Linked DNA regions of Homo sapiens: region 2 is linked to region 1. The links are contacts of gene promoters, found by promoter capture Hi-C in blood cells and fetal thymus (Javierre and others, 2016). All regions are on one chromosome and are shown on one strand. The core of a region is centred on a gene start or on the middle of the fragment in contact, and the rest is flanking DNA. Distances in the headings are between cores, read along the strand shown. Region 1 holds the start of SLC36A2 (solute carrier family 36 member 2). Region 2 overlaps FAT2 (FAT atypical cadherin 2).

Evidence for each region. The method cuts DNA at HindIII sites, captures the fragments that hold promoters and counts their contacts. A CHiCAGO score of 5 or more calls a contact.
Region 2: a contact is called between a fragment that was not itself captured here and the fragment with the promoter of SLC36A2 in region 1, in 3 of 17 cell types (M2 macrophages, M1 macrophages and M0 macrophages). The highest score is 8.2, in M2 macrophages.

What each region holds. Positions count from the first base shown.
Region 1 is chr5:151,346,238-151,348,897 of GRCh38, forward strand. SLC36A2 (solute carrier family 36 member 2) reads right to left here and starts at 1,322. Exons shown (of 10, transcript NM_181776.3): 1 at 1,060-1,322. The coding sequence starts at 1,223. It also overlaps a transcript of SLC36A1 not described here. RefSeq lists an enhancer at 835-1,748. The HindIII fragment of the contact is 1,251 bases long and covers 1,011-2,261 here.
Region 2 is chr5:151,516,494-151,519,153 of GRCh38, forward strand. FAT2 (FAT atypical cadherin 2) reads right to left here. Exons shown (of 24, transcript NM_001447.3): 20 at 1,127-1,272. It also overlaps a transcript of SLC36A1 not described here. Among named protein-coding and RNA genes, the nearest start is that of MIR6499, 4.3 kb to the right of the region's middle. RefSeq lists an enhancer at 678-847 and a cis regulatory region at 763. The HindIII fragment of the contact is 2,238 bases long and covers 179-2,416 here.

The DNA.
Region 1 (2,660 bases), core at 72-2,571:
AGCACACTCTCAGGGTCACTAATACTTAGCAACTTCCAGGACTAGCCCTGGGGCGACAGCACAGGCAGCAGGGCCAGTCACTGTGTCCATCCCTAAATTGTCCTGCTGGATGGCTGTGGGGAGGGGCTTTGCCTGCCCCTTACAGTCCCTCCCTGCAGTGCACCCCCGAGAAACACATCCTCCGATTTTGTTTCCATGCACCCTCCTTTAGTTCACACTGCCACCTGTTTTGCATGTCAGAAAACTGGAACTTAGAGAAGGAGCAGAGAAACCACTTGAACTCAGGCCTTCTGATTCTCTGTCCAGTGCTCTTTCTACTATCTAGTGGTGCAAAAACTTTCTTCTTAAAGCAGCAGAACCTCTTCACTACCACACCCCACACCTTTTGTTCCTAAGTAAACTAGCAAGTCTGGTTGGGTGGTGGGGTCAGATGTGGGGAAGGGAGCTGCAGCCCTGTAGCTTGGCTTCCCTCTTTTTTTATGTTTTGGAAGCCTTGTGAATAACCCCCACTCCCCACTCCCTGGAAAGTGGAAAAAACTAGAACTTTCCACAAAGTGTGTTTTTTAGAGTCATCTATGCTTCTCAGTTGAAGTAGAGGCCAGGCTTACTGCAGGAAGGAGGCAGGGAGGAGGAAATACTTAGTGGTCAGTGAGGCCACTGTGGTTTTAAGCTCAGGACTCACCTTCTCCTCCAAGTAGTTAGGGATTCTACCTCTATCCCCAATCTTAACATCGCTGGCCAGGAACAAAAATGTGGCTTTAGGGCCAGCACTGAATTCTAGCCCTTATCCTGCCAATGACTCAGTATGTGGTCCAGGGTAATTGAGCCTCAGTTTCCCCACCTGTGCCTTTTGGGATCTGGATCACTATGTCCCTAAGGGCTTTTCTGACAGCCTTTACTTCTGCCTCAGCTTGACTCAGCCCATGACTGCACCTTTTGCAACCTTGGTTTCTCATCTGCACAGTGGGTTGAGGGTCAGACACACCCACCTCAGGGTTTTTGCCAATGCAAGCTTCAGGCTAGAAAGCAGAAATAGGGATGGCAGAAAACAGCACTCACGTTATGCCCTTGGTCTTCTTCAAGCCTGCTGACTCTGAAGGACTTTCATCCAAGAATGTAGAGTCCTTGTTCTCCAACTTCTTGGCACTTTCAGGAGGCGACATAAGGTCCAATTTGATGGCAACGGCTCCCTGGGGACCCTCAGTACTTTTTGTCACAGACATGACTGCTTAAGAAACAAGGAGCTCGGGGTGACAAAGAGGTCTGCTCTGGAAGGAGGGAAGCAGGAAGGTGTCTAGTGTAGATGTACACCCCAGCACAGTGGTGTGTGCCCGGGCTGGCTCTGGCCAAGCTGGAACGAGGCCCCGCCCACCTCCCTGGAGGGCACCTCTTCCTGCCTGGAGAAGCCAGTGGACGAGGACTCCTGGGAAGAGGAGGAGAGGAAGGAGGGATTTGGAAAAGGCATCACCCATTCGTATTGGTATTACTTAATAATAATCATAATGATAACTATTATACTGATAATTTTAATAACAAATATCTATTAAGCCCTGTACTAAGGGATAAGCAATCCTCTAAGTGTTTTATCTACATTTTCTCATTTAACCCTATCAATTAAGTAAGGAGAAAACTGAGGTTTCTTGAAGTAAAGGAATCTGCCCGAGGTCAGATAGCTAGAAAGTGACAGAGTTGGAACCTAGCCCAATTTGTCAAGGTTTTCAACCAGTAACCTATTTCTGTCTCCAAGAAAATACCTACAAATCCCTCTCCTTTTATTCATCTCAGGGTAGAGGTTTCCATGTCTCACTGGCTCCACAGTCTGCTGTAAGACATCCCTTCTTGCAGCACCCCATTCTTAAATTGGAACAAAAAAGGGACAGTCACTCAGTCATCTCTAATTAATTCTTAGCTTTTGTGAGGCTCCATGGAGTGAGTAAAGAGTGTTCTTCTGGAAACGGGGAAGAGGCTGAGATTGTATGACTCCCAGCCACAGTTTGCTGGGCAAGATACTGGCGCCAGGAGGTGGTGAGATTTGTCTAAGGTCACACATGAAATCCAGGATAGAACTCTGCAGCTAAAGATGGTCTTGGGCGTTTCTCTAGTATCCCACTCTCTGTCATTATCTCTGCTTCAGTGCAGATGAACAGGCCAAAATTTCCTCCTCCCTCAAAATTACAGCTTTTGACTCAAGCCATACCACTCTCTCCTCCATCATCTCATCCCCAAAACTAACATTTCTTAAGGGCTTATTACATGCCACAAGCTTTGCTTAGCTAATGTCACTGCTAACTGGTAGCATCCAAGACAGATTTGTCAGGCCCCTCCCTTACATGGGGCTCTTTCCAAGGTCCTGTATGCAATTTTGAATGGACAATTTTGTATTGCTTTTTTCTTAAAGAGGTCCTCCTTACCACTACTTTCCCCTTCTCCATGGGATAAGCTTCAAGCTCCACAAAGCCTGGCTACTTCTGTGGGTTAGCTTTGTTAGTTTGTTTTTACAGATGTGGAAATTGAGGCTCAGAGAGGAAAAGAATAACTTGCTGGAGGTCACAGCTGGAACTCGGTAAATCCGAACTCCCCGCTAGCCAGGTTTTTTTTGGTTGTTGTTGTTTGTTTTTTGTTTTGTTTGTTTGTTTTTTCTGAAGCCTGCAGCTTTGACC
Region 2 (2,660 bases), core at 48-2,547, 170 kb after region 1:
CGACAGAGTGAGACTCTGTCTCAATAAATAAATAAATAAAAATTGCAACTCTCCTCACCCCTGATGCCCCTCCATTTTTTCCTTTTTGCTCATAATACTTATCACATTTGAACAAATTCTATAATTTTCTGAGCTATTATGTTTATGTTTATTGTCAGTCTCTCCCCCATAGAACAAAAGCTTTAAAAGGGATTTCTGTCTTTTTCACTGATGAGACCCAAGCACCTAGGACAGTGCCTGTCACATAGTAGATGCTCAATAAATCTGTTTTGAATGAATTAAAATCTAGTGGCCAAAGTTGGCTTTCTCTTTGTTGAAATGGTAGGTTGGGGCTGAGGGCAGTGGTTCATGCCTGTAATCCTAGCACTTTGGGATGCCGAGGCAGGCGGATCACCTGAGGTCAGGAGTTCGAGACCAGCCTGGCCAACATGGCAAAACCCCATCTCTACTTAAAAAATACAAAAAATAGCCAGGCATGGTGGTGTGTGCCTGTAATCCCAACTACTCGGGAAGCTGAGGCAGGAGAATCGCTTGAACCTGGGAGACAGAGGTTGCAGTGATCTGAAATCACACCACTGCACTCCAGCCTCGGTGACAGAGAGAGACTCCATCTCAAAAAAAAAAAAAAGAAAAAAGAAATGGTAGATTGGCATATGTGATAGAGGTGTTAAAATCACAGGCAGACTGTGACCTTCCACATGACATAATCCAAATAACTGAATGATTATTACAAAGGAAATTTATTTTTCTTCCATGTGATTCCATGGGGTTTGAGCACCCCCAGTGGTAAGCAATCCCCCCATCCCTGGGAAACACTGGCCTATTACTCAGCAAAAATGATAACGGCACCAGGGCTAGTTGACCTCATCCATCTCCATTTCTATCTTACCCCACAGAGTAAGCAGCCCCACTTGTGACCGTCCTTGGACGTATATCTCCAGGTTGGGTGGCTGTGGCCATCCAGGACAGGATAATCATGTGGCCCAACAGTCACACCCAGAATCCCTGAAAACTGTGCAGGGATTTCTTTGGCAGAAATGGGCTTCCTGACATTCCTCATGCCTCACCCCCTACCTCCCCAGCCTGGGACACCCACATGAAATCTCTCAGGCTGGCAGTGCCTTACCTTCAGGGAGACGGACGCTGTTTCATTGGTGAATAGAAGAATGGCCTGTGGCTGGAGTGTTTTCAGATAGAAATGGATGTGCCAGTTCCGAGCCGCTGGGGCCCTGTACCGCACATAGCTCTGACCACTGAACCTTGTAGCAGTACCTGAGAAAGCAACCAAAGCTGTCACCTCTACTTGAAGTGGTCCCCATTGAGCCCTTGGACTGACTTTGTCTTATTTAATCCTTGGGTGGCAGACAGAATCATTGCTCATATTTTATACATGAAGAAACTAGGCTGGGTGTGGGGTGTGCCATACCTTTCTAGCCTCACACGTAGAGCCAGACAGGAGCCTTCACCCTACCTTTTGTTGACTGCAGGGACCCCTGCCTTAGGTCCCAGGCTGGGTCAAGAAATATGAATTTAAACCATTAAGAAAGCAAAAGTCATCCAGGTGAGGTGGCTCATGCCTATAATCCCAGCACTTTGGGAGGCTGTGGCGGGAGGATCACCTGAACCCAGAAGTTCGAGACCAGCCTGGGCAACAGAGCAAGACCTCATCTCTAAAACATAAAATAAAAATAAAAATAGCCAGGCATGGTGCCTCATGCCTGTAACTCCAGTTACTTGGAATTACATCCTCTCAGCTGAGGCAGGAGTATCACTTGAGCCCAGGAAGTCAAGGCTGCAGTGAACCATGATCTTGCCACTCTATTCCAGCCTGGGTGACAGAGAGAGACCATGTCTCTAATAATAATAATAATAATAATAATAATTTTTAAAAGAAAGTAAAAATCAGGCCAGAAATGTAATGAATCAAGTGTGTGAAAATCAAAATTTTTATTCTACATAGTTTCCATGTTATTTCTGGTGTTGGGAATCTACACTGGGAATGTAGATACTGCATGTGTGTGTGATTTTAGACCCACAAGGGTTTTTGCCTCAGGATAGTTCCTTGTATGAGCAGGAGTTAATCATTTAGGTAAACAATAAAATGCGGCTGAGAGGTCAAGAGCCACTCTATGATAAAGAGAGAGGGGCAGTGATAGACTGTATGGCCAAAACTTTTGTAAAGTCTGGCATCCTCCATCCCGCCTTAGCAATGGCTAATGCACAGTTGCATAGTATGGAGTAAACTTGAGTTTCTTAAGCATCTTTGACTGTGGGACACTCTTATGTGGACCACTCTTGGGAATAGCATTCTGTTGAACCCCCTTTGGGAAGCACTGCCCTCCCCAGATTTTAAAAAATATCCACCCTCCCCAGAAGTGAGTCCAGCTATGAAATCCCCAAAACCCCAGTGTAAATAAGCTTGTCAGTTGTCAGGGGAGAGGATGAGCGGTCCAGCCTCTAGATACCTAGCAAAGAGGAATTGTTGAAGAGAGAGAACAAAAGCCAAAAGGAGGAGAAGAAAGAACCAGAAAAGATGAGGCACAAGGGATTATAACATCCACACATTCCAGCTGGACGCAGTGGCTCACACCTGTAATCCCAGAACTTTGGAAGGCCAAGACAGGCAGATCACCTGAGGTCAGGAGTTCGAGACCAGCCTG